Linked DNA regions of Homo sapiens: regions 1 and 2 are each linked to region 3. Evidence: promoter capture Hi-C in 16 types of primary human blood cells and fetal thymus (Javierre and others, 2016). All regions are on one chromosome and are shown on one strand. The core of a region is centred on a gene start or on the middle of the fragment in contact, and the rest is flanking DNA. Distances in the headings are between cores, read along the strand shown.

Region 1 (4,632 bases), core at 1,056-3,555, 710 kb before region 3:
TTTGTTTTGTTTGTTTTGAGAAAAGGTCTTGCCCTGTGACCCAGTGGCCCAGTCTAGGGTGCAGTGGCACAATCATGGTTCACTGCAGCTTCAAACTCCTGAGCTCAAGTGATCCTCCCACTTCAGTCTCCCGAGCAGCTGGGATGACAGGGCGTGTGCCGTAATGCCCAGCTACAGGGTCTGAGGTTTCTGTTGGATAATGAGGGCAGTAGGGAGCCATGGACGAGTCTGGGCAGAGGAGGGGCCTTATATAAACAGTGAGTCAAGACTAATTTTGGTAAGATCTATCAATGAGATCTAGCAGTTTGGTAAGGATGAGTCAGGGTGGCCCCTGGGTGCCTGCAGTGAGATTGTGATCCAAGGACTCAGTCACCAGCAAGGGAATTTCAAGCAGCACTCTGCCTGGTAGGAGCTGGGATTTGGAGAAAAGATGTCTTCTGTTGAGAATAGTCTCAGGCGGCACTCAGTCACTAATACCCGTAATCCTAACACTTTGGGAGGCTGATGCAGGCAGATCACTTGAGCCCAGGAGTTTGAGACTAGCCTGGGCAACACGGTGAAACCTTGTCTCTACAAAAAATGCAAAACTTAGTGGGGCATGGTAGCATGAGCCTATGGTCCCAGCTACTCGAGAGGCTGAGGTGGGAGGATGGCTTAAGCCCAGGAGGCGGAGGCTGCAGTGAGCCGAGATCATGCCACTGCACTCCATCTTGGGCGACAGAGCAAGACCCTATCTAATACCTTTCTGCAGTTGTCAGGGAGAGCTGCTTGGGAGTTTCTCTGTGGTCTACGCCCTTCCCTAGATGAGTGCATCAGAGGAAGGTAGATACCTTGGTTTTTCTTTTTGGGAGCCAGCAAGGCTAGTGCTAAAGGAACCATTTCTCACACTGAGTAGGGTGGAGCTGAGCAGAGTAGAGAGCTGGGCAGAGGTCCAGGGCACCAAGGCCAGTGAAGGGTGGAGAGAACCTGTTTACCATTGTGCACTGACCCAGCACTAGAAGGAGCAGAGCCAGGGAATTCCTCATGGGAAAGACAGGCAGCCCCAGAATTAGCCTGCATTGGGAAGGAGGGAGAGTGAAGCAAGCCAGACTCTCTCACTCAGACAGGGAGCCTGGACACTGCCAGCCGGCTCCTAGGCAGGGGTGGCCGGGCCCCAGAAGGGAGTGCCAGGCTGCTGCAGACCCTCTTCCTTTTTCCTACCAACTCACAGAGTGTGTGGCGTCAGGCAGACCGCTTACCTTCTGGGGAGGGGATGGCCTCACTGCATGATCTCATAGGTTTCCCAGTCCTGACAGCCATTTGCACACCACCAGCCTACCCTCTCCTGCCTTTGGTTTCTCATCATCACTTCTTATGGAACTGGTCTAAAAGCCATTTATACCTTCATTCATTACCACCTCTTAGGGTAGTGAACTCCAGAGGTTGTTGCCTAGTATGCAAAACAGGTCAGCCTTTTGTTTGTCCTCACTTCACTTTCAGGCTCTGGGTGGAGAGGGAAACCCTCTGGATCGGTGATTGGCCATGCTCCCCCTGCACATCCACTTCCCAATTTTCCACACTTTGGTGGGACTTCCTCCAACTGCCTCCTCTCCATCCTGGAGACCCAAGTGTGAGGGGTTTTTTTCACGTTATTCACCCCTGCCTTTCTCGGCACAGAGGGTGATAAGAAGAGGGAAGGGAATGTGACAGGGATTGAAGCCATGGTATGAGCGGGGGACTTTATATGTCTTGTATAGTTTAGTGCTCAGGTGGCAGCCTCTACTTCCAGGCTATGTAACCTTGGGCATATTACTCCACTGTGCTGAATCTTAGTGTTCTTGTCTATTAAATGGAGATAATTAAAGCTATTTCCTTGGGGGATTGTGTGCCTGTGTAGTGCTTGGCAGAGCTAGTACACGGCCAGCGCATGAAAGTGTCAGCTCTTAATTGCCTCACATCATGTTTACCAATGTTCTCTGAGGAGGTGGCATTCCTCCTGGGTTACAGATGAGGAACTGGAAGCTCAGAGAGCAAAGCAGCCAGCCCTGTTTCACACAGCTGTAAAGCGGTAGAGCTTGGATCAGCGGCCAGGAGTTAGAATTTGTTTACCATTGAGCAAATTAAGTAATCTCTCAGAGCCTCAATTGCTTCATGAGTAAAATGGTGGTAATCATGCCCTGCCTTCCTCAAAGGCCTGTGTATGGGGACCAGTCAGATGAGAAAAGAGATGTGAAATTGCTAGTTAAGCCGCAAATACCAGTCACCTAATAGCTACCATTTGCTGGCCACCCACCAGGCTGGGCCCTTGTACACATTTATTCCTCATTGCAGCCCTATAAGAGATGAGGTGTGCGTTATGACCCCACTGAAAGATGAAGAAGTTGTCACTTTTTGCACATGGTCTCCCAGTTAGTAGATGGCAGAACTGGAGTACCTAGCTCAGCTAACTTCAAGTCCCCACTCTATTTATTCTCCCCTACACCCCACCTGGTTTCCCCTATGGGTGAGAGGAGGATCAGTCCTGTGGTCTGTGACCTCAGACTTTCTGCTTAGGGTGTATTTCTCTTTGTTTGGGCTGGTTCAGGGAGTGAGGCTTGGAGGAGGGTTTAGACGGGTTCCTTGGTATCAAGATTTATCTCCCACGACAGGCTAGGATAAGGAGGTGATGAGCATGGACACTGCCCTTGCTGAACCTGCCTAGCCAGAGGTGCTGAGATGTGCTTGGGCAGAAAGCAGATGTCTAGAAGGACAAGGGAAGAGAGAACCCCAGCCCTTGGTCTCAGTAGCCTGGGAAGCAGTCTTGTCCTTCTGAACTTTTGGAAGCCTCAAGCCTCTGGGTTTTGGGAGAACGCTAGGAAACTGGGAACCTACAGAGAATGGGGTCAGCAGAGTGTCACTGCTGCCTTGGACCATGACGTGGCACAGCATGGCTAAGCCTGTTCCAGTCCAGGAGCCTGACAAGATCTGTGATTAGGTGCCACCTTTGTCTCCTCTGAGCCTTTCCTCCTCAGAAGCTGGGGTTGCCAGCAAATGGCAGATTGCCCTGGCCGGGTGCGGTGGCTCATGCCTGTCATCCCAGCACTTTGGGAGGCTGAGGCGGGTGGATCACATAGTCAAGAGATTGAGACCATCCTGGCCAACATGGTGAAACCCCGTCTCTACTAAAAATACAAAAATTAGCTGGGTGTGGTGGTGCCCCAGCTACTTGGGATGCTGAAGCAAGAGAATCACTTAAACCCGGGAGGTGGAGGTTGCAGTGAGCTGAGATCATGCCACTGCACTCCAGCCTGGGCGACAGAGCAAGACTCCGTCTCAAAAAAAAAAAAATGGCAGATTACCCAGGCTTACCATCTGCACCTGAGGTTGTGCTGGCAAACCATCCCATCCAGTGTATTGGTGTCTCTGAGCATTGCTAGGTACGGGCAGGCCACTCACTGGGGCAGTCACAACACTGGAGGAGGGGGTTAGACTGTCTCCAGTGGCTTGGGCGCCAGAGATGGAGCCACACAGAAGCATCTGGAGAAGGGCCTGATTTCCCCACAGCCTTCCCCAGGGAACTGGAAATAGCATATAGGTCACTGTGACAGAGGGGAAGCCCTGGGTCAGCTACTTACTTATTAGCTTTGTGACTTTGTCCAAGTCATACAACCTTTCTGATCAGGCCAAGTCTGTCATGGTCCAAATGGAAATAGTAATTAATCTGTGAGGGCCCCACTTCACTGGGCTATTAGAGGGACACGTACAATTTCTAAGGCAGAAGTAGCTTGTAGCCCTGATGCAGTGCAGATGAAGGTAATGATGTCATGGAGAAAGCCAGGCAGGCAGCTGTTGAACACCTGGGGCGTGTGGTAGGAGTCACAGAAGAAGTTCAAGACCCGGTCCAGCTGGGGAGGGACAGTGCTGAGTAATATGAGCAAGTGGTAATGAAGTGCATATTTCACACTTAATGACTTGACTCATTTGTCAGTTGGTGCTGAAATCAGTTTTAGGGGCTTGTGACCAGCATTTAAAACAATAGAATAGAAAAATAGAAAATCAATCTGGAAATATCAGAGTGCATTAGTACATGTAAGGGCAACTCGTTTCCTAAAATGTATTCTGGTTGTGTGTGTGTATGTGTGTTGTGTTTGTGTGGGTCTCAGTTTAAAAAGCATGAGACATGGTGTTCTGAGCCAGGATGAAGATCTTCAGGTTGGAGGACATTTTACGAGATCTAGGCAGGCAGGCAGGCAGGCATGCAGGCATGCAGGCATGCAGGCAGGCAGGCATGCAGGCATGCAGGCATGCAGGCTGTGTGGAGGCTGAGGGCTTGGCCTGTGGAGGCAGAGAAGTGTAGTACAAGGGTCAAGAGCATGAGCTGTAGAGTCAGTCAGGCCTGGGTTTGAGTCCCAGCTCTGCCACTTATAGCTACATGGTCTTAAAACACTCTTAACATTACTAAGCCTTGGATTCTACTTTAAAATGGGGAGAATGGGCCGGGCGCTGTGGCTCACGCCTGTAATCCCAACACTTCAGGAGGCCGAGGCGGGTGGATCGCCTGAGGTCAGGAGTTCAAGACCAGCCTGGCCAACATAGTGAAACCCTGTCTCTACTAAAAATGCAAAAAATTAGCTGGGTGTGGTGGTGGGCGCCTGTAATCCCAGCTACTCGGGA
Region 2 (4,751 bases), core at 621-3,120, 790 kb before region 3:
CCCAGGGACCAGCCTGCCACCTGGTGGCAGCTTGATTACATTGGCCTCTTCCTCATAGGTGGGGCCCAGGTTCATGCTCACTGGAATAGACACATATTCTAGATGTGGATTTGCCTTCCCTGCCCTTCATCCTTCTGCCAGCACCACCATCTGTGTACTCACGGAATGCCTTTTTTTTGGCATTTGCACAGCCTGGTGTGTGACCAAATAACTCATTTCACAGCAAAGGAAGAGAAGCAGAGGGCTCAGGTTCACGGAATTCAAGGGCCTTGTCATACACCCCATTCCTGGTACCAATTCTAAAACATTTCATCCTCATCACCACCCCCTTCCACTGCTGAGGTAACATATTCCATGCCTCACACTTTCATTAGTAGCTTTGTTTCTTCCTAGGTCCCCCTGCAACTTTACAGAATAAGGAGAGACAGAGGAATTGGGGCCTTCTCCATGCAGGTCTCTGCCCAGCCCAGGGCCAGGAAACCTTGTATCCCAAGAAACAAGCTACTTGGAATCACAGCATGTCTGATGAAAGGCCCTCCCAAGTCATTTAGTCCAAGCTCCCATTTTACAACTGAGGACACAGGCCAAGAAAACGGAAGTGGCTTGCCCAGAGGCCCATGGTGAGAGAGTGACAGTCCTGTCCGCTCTAGCTCCCCACCCTCTCTTGGGAGTTTGGATCTGCGGGTTGGGCTACTCCAGAGAGAGCCCACAGGGCTGAGGGTCCTGTTGTCCATCCCTGGGAGCAGGGTGCCTGCATGTCTCTTAGCTGGCATCCCTTCCCCCGCTTCTGGGGTCCTCCAGTCCCCTTCTCCTCAGATACTCCACTCCCAGGCAGGGCCTCAAGGTCACTCGTCTCCTTGCAGTCAATCTCCCACCCTTGGCTGCCTCACTTCCTGGGCTTACACTGCACTCTGCCCCCCGCCAGCATTGGCTCCAATCTTTACTGTTTCTTTACCCACCCCCTAACCCTCCTCACCCCAAAGCAGCAGAAGGCCCCTGGCTGGGCTGAGCTACACCCACCCACGTTGAGGTAACATCCTCCAGCTCTTGTTCCTTCTGCGATAACCAGGGGTTACCCCATGGAAGAACACACCACAGGGAACTGGTTACCCACCAAGTTTGCAAGGGGGCTCCGGCTCCCACTGATGGAAGGCTAGGATGTGGATATTTGTAGGGAAGCAGAACTGTGTTCTAGGTGGGGGACAAGCGTGAACAAGGACCTGCATCTGGTTGGAGTGTGTATGTTGAGGGGTGACTAGGTCAGTGGGGTGAAGGGTAGGGAGAAAGTGGGGACAGGGCAGGCAGAACATGGAGCCAAAGACCTGGCTGATTACAGGGTGCATCCTTGCAACCCTGTTGTTGGGGCTGACAGATGGGCTGGGACAGTCACAGAAATGGAGAAGCAAGCCTCTTCACGGGCACCACGGGGCTTCCACAGTGCATTTTGTAGCTTATGAAGAGTGCTTTCCCACATATGAAAAAACGTTAGTAACATATCCAATTAGTGATCCTTTATCCTTGGGCGATACATTCCAAGATCCTCAGTGGATGCCGGAAACCTCAGGTAGTGCTGAAAACATACTGTGTTTCTTCAATCTGATAACTCTGAGGCCTACTAAGTGACTAACAGGTGGTAACATTTACAGCGTGGGGAGGATTCATATCCAGGGAGGGATGGAGAGGAAGGGCAAGAGATTTCATCATGCTACTCAGAACAGCATGCAATTTAAAACTTATGAACTGTTTATTTCTGGAATTTTCCATTTAATATTTTTTTGGACCTCGGTTGGCTGAAGGTAACTAAAACCTCAGGTAAGGGGAGACTACTATAGACCAATGGAACAGAACAGAGAATCTAGCTACGTGCAGTGGCTATTGCCTGTAAGCCCAGCACTTTGGGAGGCTGAGGCAGGCAGTTCCCTTGAGCCCAGGAGTTCAAGACCAGCGTGGGCAACATGGTGAAACCCTGTCTCTACAAAAAAAAAAAAAAAAAAAAAAAAAATTAGCTGGGCATGGTGACACACCCCTGTGGTCTCAGCTACTTTGGAGGCTGAGGTGGGAGAATCAGTTGACCCTGGAGGTTGCAATGAGCTGAGAAGGCACCATTGCATTCCAGCCTGGGCAACAGAGAGAGACCCTGTCTCAAAAATAAATGCATAAATAATTTTTTAATGCTTAAACTTTTACTTTTCTTATTTAGGTCTTTAATCTATATGGAATTCATATTTTGTATATGATGTGTATGTAATAGGGGTCTAATTTCTTCTCCTAATGGTTAATTCAATTTCTTAGCACAATTTACCAAACAGTCCATGCTACTGCCTCCTTGTATCTCCACAAACACAATGTTTCCTCTGATGTACACCATCTTTAGATGTGTGGGTCAGTTTCTGGCCTATTTCATGTTCCATTTGTCTGTCTTTAGGCTGATATCGGGGGCTGTCTTATATACCCGTCTCACACTTCTTCAGGAGCAACTTGGTCATCCCATATCAGTGTTCCTACAGGTGTTCACTGTAAAATTCTTTCAATTTTTCTGGAGAAAAAAGAGTGTTGTGGCTCATCTGGCCCAGGTTGGAGTGCAGTGGCACCATCTCAGGTCACTGCAAGCTCCGCCTCCCGGGTTCACGCCATTCTGCTGCCTCAGCCTCCCGAGTAGCTGGGACTACAGGCGCCTCCCAACATGCCCGGCTATTTTTTTGCATTTTTAGTAGAGACGGGGTTTCACCTTGTTAGCCACGATGGTTTCGATCTGCTAACCTCATGATCCGCCTGCCTCAGCCTCCCAAAGTGCTGGGATTACAGGCGTGACCCACCGCGCCCTGCCCACCATACAATTTTTAAAGGCTCAGGTTTCAGACTGAGCCAGCTCCCAGCAGCCCCAACCCTTGGAGAAACGGACAAGTTTTAGAACAGTAGTGGAACTTCCACATTCCAGTAGACATTTGAGTTATTTGCTGGGGGTGAGGCAGTGTTGATTGTACATGGTGCTTATTTATTTATTTATTTATTTAGAGACGGAGTTTCACTCTTGTCGCCCAGGCTGGATTCCAATGGCGCGATCTCGGCTCGCCGCAACCTCCGCCTCCCGGGTTCAAGCGATTCTCCTGCCTCAGCCTCCTGAGTAGCTGGAATTACAGGCATGCGCCACCACGCCCGGCTAATTTTGTATTTTTAGTAGAGACGGGGTTTCTCCATGTTGGTCAGGCGGGTCTCGAACTCCCGACCTCAGGTGATCCGCCCGCCTCGGCCTCCCAAAGTGCTGGGATTACAGGCGTGAGCCACCGCGCCCGGCCTATGGTGCCCATTTCACAGATGAGGGAAGTGACCCAGCCTCTCGGTCCCACTGAGGCACTGAGTCCCTGCCTGCTTCGTTTTGCCTTGCCCCCCAGCCCCTTTCCCCTGCCCCTCTATCTCCCCTGTCGGCTTCCCACGCCAGTCTCTGGTTCTCTGCCTCCTGCTGTTTAGTGGGGTCGAGACAGGGAGGACCGGGGAAGAGAGGGATGTGACTTGGCCCTGGCCACCCCGTGGGTCCACGGGGCTGCCGCAGAACAAGGGCCTGCCACCAGGCCCCTTAGACATCCCTTGCTCCTGCCCTTCTCAGGCTCTGATCGTGTCTCTGCTCCCCCAGGTCGCCCTTTCCAACTATTTTCCTGTCTGCCCCGCTGACGCGTCCGCTGCCGAAGCACCTCCTCTCTCTGACTTTCCGCCTTCCCGCTGCGACCCCGGTTTTGCCCCTCTCCAGCTCCCTCAGCCGCGGGCACCTGAGCTCTCCGCGGCCACCAGGGGGCGCCCGCGGCCCAGTCTGGGCGCGAGAGCCGCCAAGCGCCCACTCCGTTCCTCCTGGTGCCCCGCCCCGTCCGGCCGCGGCCCCGCCCCTCCCGGCGCCCCGCCCCGTCCGGCAGCGGCCTCGCTCCCTCCGATCCCCCCCGCGCCCGGGACCCCTGGCCCCACTGTTGGGCCAGCTCGCCGGGTCCGGCCATGGGCCCCGCCGCTCGCCCCGCGCTGAGATCGCCGCCGCCGCCTCCGCCGCCGCCTCCGTCTCCGCTGCTGCTGCTGCTGCCCCTGCTGCCGCTGTGGCTGGGCCTGGCGGGGCCCGGGGCCGCGGCGGACGGCAGCGAGCCGGCGGCCGGGGCGGGGCGGGGCGGAGCCCGCGCCGTGCGGGTGGACGTGAGACTGCCGCGCCAGGACGCTCTGGTCCTGGAGGGCGTCAGGATCGGCTCCGAAGCCGACCCGGCGCCCCTGCTGGGCGGTCGTCTGCTGCTGGTGAGCGCTGCTGAGCCATCTGGCCGCATCACTAAACCCCTCTCTCAACCCTCCCTAGAGACCCCGCACCCTGAACCGACGTTCATCCTCCACCAAGCCTTGAGAGTCCAGCGCCCCTCCCCAGGCTCCCCAGGCCCCCAGCATTCCGGCTTCCCAAACCAGAGAGCCAGATGCTCTGGGAACTCTGGCCTTGGCATCCACTGTGATGACCCCGGCTCCCTCCCCCACCACACCCTACCTCCCTCTGCTCATGGCCCCTTGCCACACAGATGGACATCGTGGATGCCGAGCAGGAGGCACCAGTGGAAGGCTGGATTGCAGTGGCATACGTGGGCAAGGAGCAGGCGGCCCAGTTCCACCAGGAGAATAAGGGCAGTGGCCCGCAGGCCTATCCCAAGGCCCTGGTCCAGCAGGTGCAGGGGATGTCTATGGGGGAGGGGGCTGGAGGAAAGGATTCCAAGGCATCTGCTAGAGCCAGGCCCTCC
Region 3 (5,118 bases), core at 2,271-4,770:
GGGGTACCTGTAGTATTTCGATACATTAATATACAATGTATAATGATACAACCAGGACAGGAGGGACATCCACCACCTCAGAGGTCTGTGGTCAATGTTTTGTTTTGTGACAGGACAGAGCTTCACTGTCACCCAGGCTGGAGTGCAGTGGCGTGATCTTGGCTCACTGCAACTTCCACCTCCCAGTTCACGTGATTTTCCTGCTTCAGCCTCCCAAGTAGCTGGGATTACAAGTGTATGCCCCCATGCCCAGCTAATTTTTGTATTTTTAGTAGAGATGGGGTTCACCATATTGGTCAAGCTGGTCTCAAACTCCCGACCTCAGATGATCTGCCTGCCTCAGCCTCCCAAAGTGCTGGGATTACAGGCGTGAGCCACCATGCTGCGGTCAATGTTTGATCCTTCTTCTGATCCTAGAATGGCTTCTTCCAGCTGTCTTATTCCCCAATTCTTTCCAGCAAACCAGGAGGCCTACAGTCTAGGCTGCATCTCCATTAAATCCGCAGATCTCCCAGTTGCCTCTTACCAAAACCTTCACATCTCCAGATTGCCCTTAGGCATGAATTTCTCCACACTGTGTTGCAAATGAAGTCACTGCCATTGGAAAGAGATTAGGAGCTATCTGTTTTAGGGCCTGCTTCTCTCCTGAGGCAAAATCCCGGAGCCAAGGCTCTGGAGCTGTGGGGAAGGACCCTGGAAAGATTCTCTCTGAGAAATACCCTCACTCTAGGAACTGAGCACTTGGTGGAAGGAGGCAGGGGACCGCAATAACCTGAGGCTCAGCCTGCAAGAACTGGGGGATGAGCAATTGGGGCACCAGTAATTTCAGTATGTCATGTCCAAGGTACAGTCCTGTTCCACAAGTAGGGACTAGGTGGAAGAAGGGAGCTCCAACTTTTCGCAGGGCACAGTGGCTCACGCCTATAATCCCAACACTTTGGGAGGCCGAGGCAGGTGGATCACCTGAGGTAGGGAGTTCAAGACCAGCCTGACCAACATGGAGAAACCCTGCCTCTACTAAAAATACAAAATTAGCCAGACATGGTGGCGCAAGCCTGCAATCCCAGCTACTTGGGAGGCTGATGTGGGAGAATCGCTTGAACCCGGGAAGCAGAGGCTGCGGTGAGGCGAGATCACACCATTGCACTCCAGTTTGAGCAACAAGAGCAAAACTCCGTCTCAAAAGAAAAAAAAAGAGAGCTCCAACTTTCAATTGCACTCACACAGGTTTTAACCTCAGCAACAAGTAGCTCTAGGTAGGATGAGAAATGCTGATGTCCTGCTTTTCCTGGGAAGAAAGCATTTGATTGGGAGCTGGGGGAGCAGTGCCCGGTATTACAGTTTGCAATAGTCTGGAGTAGAAGCTCCACCTCACTAAGCTAGGAGTGAGTAAGGAGGGAATGATCTTGGTTCAAATACCATACCCTCTCATCTTTCTTACCGAATTTGTAGATTTTCTTGAATAGGTGTTTTTTCATTTGTTGTTTGCCCTCAGGACCATTGCCGGAGGGTTTAAATAGTTGATTTTAAAAAAAGAATTTTTGGGCCAGGCGTGGTGGCTGCATCTGTAATCCCATCACTTTGGGAGGCCAAGGCGAGTGGATTGCTTGAGCTCAGGAGTTCAAGATCAGCCTGGGCAACATGGCAAAACCCTGTCTTTACAAAAATTAGCTAGGTGAGGCTGGGCGGGGTGGCTCACATCTGTAATCGCACCACTTTCCCACCACTTTGGGAGGCCCAGGTCGGCTGGTCACGAGGTCAGGAGTTCGAGATCAGCCTGCCCAATATGGTGAAACCCTGTCTCTACTAAAAATAGAAAAATTAGCCAGACGAGGTGGCGCACGCCTGTAATCCCAGCTACCTGGAAGGCTGAAGCAGGAGAATCACTTGAACCTGGAAGTGGAGGTGGCAGTGAGACAAGATCGCGCCATTGCACTCTAGCCCGGTGCACTCTGGGTGACAGAGCGAGACTCCGTCTCAAAAAAAAAAAAAAAAAAAAAATTAGCCAGGTGTGGTGGCACACGCCTGTGGTCCCAGCTACTCGAGAGGCTGAGGCAGGAGGACTGATTGAGCCAGGGAGGTTGGTCAGGGTTGCAGTAAGCCATGATCACACTACTGCATGCCAGCCTCGGTGACAGAGTGAGATTCTGTCTCAAAACGAAACAAAACAAAAAAGAATTTTCACCAGTTTTACAGAGGAATGGGTTCCTTAAGCTGTCATGCTGGAAGCTGATCTTATCTAAGGCTGCTTTTGTGTTACAATGGTAGAGTTGAAGAGTTGAATAACTCCAACAGAGATTCTCTAGTCTACAAAGTTGAAAATATTTACTATGTGGTCCTGTACAGAAAAAGCATGCCAACCCTTGCTTACTGCTGCCAATGCTGCTGGTCCACAAACCACACTTTTAGCAGCAAGAACTTAAATTACTTGAGAAGCAGTACTGTACGGGCTGTGAGCTTGGTTCAAAACCCCACCTTGCCATTTACTAGATAAATGGGTTTGTTCTGAGGATTAAATGTGCAAATGTCTAGCACTTTGAAAATACTGAACAATTGATAGCTGTTATCATCATGTTGGAAACTATGTGGAAAGTAAGTATGAGATGTTATATCGTTCTTCAAAGGGTTTTTTTTCCCAGAATATGCAAGCTTTAGAAAAGGGAAACAAGTATTGGCTTTCCAATAAACAAGACGCAACTTCTAATACCTGGGTACATAACAATATTACCTAATGAAAGAATAAACTTTCAAGCTTTTAAGCGTAAGCCTAACTTAAGCCTGACACTGAAATCCTGAATTTTCTATCACAGGAGCATCCAGCTTCTTCCAATAACAATGAATGAAAATAACCTTCAGGAAATGCCAAAACCCAAAAGTCCTATGAAAAAAAGCAGCAATCATCTTTAACATGAGGTTTTGGGCCTAGTTGGCCCTTCCGGTTCTGCCCGTCTCTAGCTACACCCATAAGATGATATAAAGAGAACCTCTCGAGCTTCCACCTCGACTGTCACCGCAGCAGTCGGGGCTGCCGGCCGGTTACCTCGCAATTGAACTCCATCTCGGCGTCCATGGTGACGATCCTCACGGTGAACGTCTTGGGTTGCTTCCTCTTGAGAGAGCTGAAGCTCATGCGGGAAGCGATGGCCCCGGCCATGGCGCGGGGCTCAGGCCCGGGACCCTCGCGCCCCACGGCCTGCACTCTGAGCCCTTTAGCCCCCCTGGAGTTGCTGCACAGGCCTCAGGGCCACCATGGTGGCCGGCTGCCCGGCCCGGGAACGGTCTGGGCTGCGCGGGTCCCCAGCGGCCAGCATGGGCCGCGAGGACCCTGCCTGAGCGGAAAGGGGAGTTGGGGGACGGGCCCTGACGGCTGCAGGGAGGGCACAGGAGCCGGGACCTTCGGTGCAGGCGCGACCCGGCACTCCGGGATTCGGGCCGGAGATGCCGGGGACGCCTCGGGACGGGACCCCTAGACGGCAGCGGCCCAGACTCCGCGCGCCTCTCAGCGGCCGACTAGGGTCACGGGGCCGCGCTGCATCGGGCGCGTACGCGCGCGCGTGGCTGTCACCGTCCTCACTCCGCGCGCCCGCGGGAAGCGCACCCTCCCCACAGCCCGGGGCCTGCTCCCGGCCCCGCCCTCAGGTCGCCCAGACCACTACGCGCAGCGCAACCGAACCGGAGGCTGACGCATAGATGCTGCGATTGGCTGGGAAGGCCAAGGTAGGCAGGACTTTCCCGCTCCGTCCCGCCTCCTTTGGGGTGACTCCACCAATGGAAAGTTTCACTCTAACTGCAAAAAAAGCAGGCCTAGGCTCGGCGTTGAGTGGCTACAGTGGCAGTCACTCTGAATGCTTTTGTGCCTACTCTAACAAGACTGGTTGAGGCGGCGGACCTCTGCTGACCTTACCCGGGAAACCACTTAGAGGCTGGATCCGGGGCGAGGGGAATTGGGTCCTTCGTTGGCCCAGGGAGGGACTCTTCGGTTCAAGTAGGCTCCGAGTGTGGCGCCCCAGGGGACTGCGTTTCGGACACACGGCGAATATTCTTCTTTGGCAGTTAATCACATATACCGACCCCTATGAAACTTTAAAGACACTTGTGGAGGCCTGTTAGGTTTGCTGGCACTTTCCCGCCAGATCCCTCTGCTTCCCTTTAGAATTATTATTATTATTGTTATTATTATTATTATTAATTATTATTATTATTGGGACGGAGTTTCGCTCTTGTTGCCCAGGCTGGAGTGCAGTGGCGCGATCTCGGCTCACTGCAACCTCCGCCTCCCGGGTTCAAGCGATTTTCCGGCGTCAGCCTCCCGAGTAGCTGGGATTACAGGTATGCGTCACCACGCCCGGCTAATTTTGTATTTTTATTAGAGACGGGGTTTCTCCATGTTCGTCAGGCTGGTCTCGAACCTCAGGTGATCCGCCCGCCTCGGCCTCCCGAAGTGCTAGGATTACAGGCGTGAGCCACCACGCCCCGCCTAGAATTATTATTGGTTATACCTACCTCGTGAGGTTGTTGAATTTCAGCGCACTGAATACATATAAGGCTTTAGAGCTGAGCCTGGCATCCTATGAAATTGCTGAATTTGGGTTGAAAATGAAAGCATTCTTTATTTTATACTCTATGATGCCCATTTTTGAACCGTATTCATGTATTATTTATTTAGTGTCATCAAGGGTTCTAACGGGTGTAGGGGGGATAATTACACCTTTCTGTACTTAGATAATAAATTCTATTTTAAAATAGCTCTTAGTAGTCAAATAGGGACAATTTACTGTGTTTTTTCGTTTGTTTTTTGTTTTGAGACAGAGTTTCGCTCTTGTTGCCCAGGCTGGAGTACAATGGGGCGGTCTCGGCTCTCTGCAACCTCCGCCTCCCGGGTTCAAGCAATTCTCCTGCCTCAGCCTCCCCAGTAGTTGGGATTACAGGCACCCGCCACCACGCCCGGCTAATTTTTGTATTTTTAGTAGGGACGGGGTTTCACCATGTTAGCCAGGCTGGTCTCAAACTTCTGACCTCAGGTGATCTGCCCACCTTGGCCTCCCAAAGTGCTGGGATTACAGGCGTGAGCCACCGCGCCCGGTGTACTGAGTTTTAACAACAATAATCACCCCATAA

What was found. Contacts are between HindIII fragments. The CHiCAGO score rates a contact against its expected background, and 5 or more counts as called.
Region 1: a fragment that was not itself captured here is called in contact with the fragment with the promoter of NF2 in region 3 in 2 of 17 cell types (fetal thymus and non-activated CD4 T cells); the score reaches 7.3 in fetal thymus.
Region 2: a fragment that was not itself captured here is called in contact with the fragment with the promoter of NF2 in region 3 in 2 of 17 cell types (fetal thymus and neutrophils); the score reaches 5.9 in fetal thymus.

What each region holds. Positions count from the first base shown.
Region 1 is chr22:30,307,916-30,312,547 of GRCh38, reverse strand. The region is part of intron 1 of TBC1D10A (TBC1 domain family member 10A); the gene reads left to right. Among named protein-coding and RNA genes, the nearest start is that of TBC1D10A, 17 kb to the left of the region's middle. RefSeq lists enhancers at 2,583-2,632, 3,699-3,788, 3,849-3,908. The HindIII fragment of the contact is 5,585 bases long and covers 1-4,632 here.
Region 2 is chr22:30,386,544-30,391,294 of GRCh38, reverse strand. It overlaps RNF215 (ring finger protein 215), which reads left to right and starts at 3,884. Exons shown (of 9, transcript NM_001017981.2): 1 at 3,884-4,266; 2 at 4,536-4,679. The coding sequence starts at 3,982. RefSeq lists a silencer at 3,785-4,144. The HindIII fragment of the contact is 6,025 bases long and covers 1-4,751 here.
Region 3 is chr22:29,602,035-29,607,152 of GRCh38, reverse strand. NF2 (NF2, moesin-ezrin-radixin like (MERLIN) tumor suppressor) reads right to left here and starts at 3,520. Exons shown (of 16, transcript NM_000268.4): 1 at 3,041-3,520. The coding sequence starts at 3,154. RefSeq lists enhancers at 276-797, 4,005-4,134 and a silencer at 3,175-3,754. The HindIII fragment of the contact is 9,228 bases long and covers 2,755-5,118 here.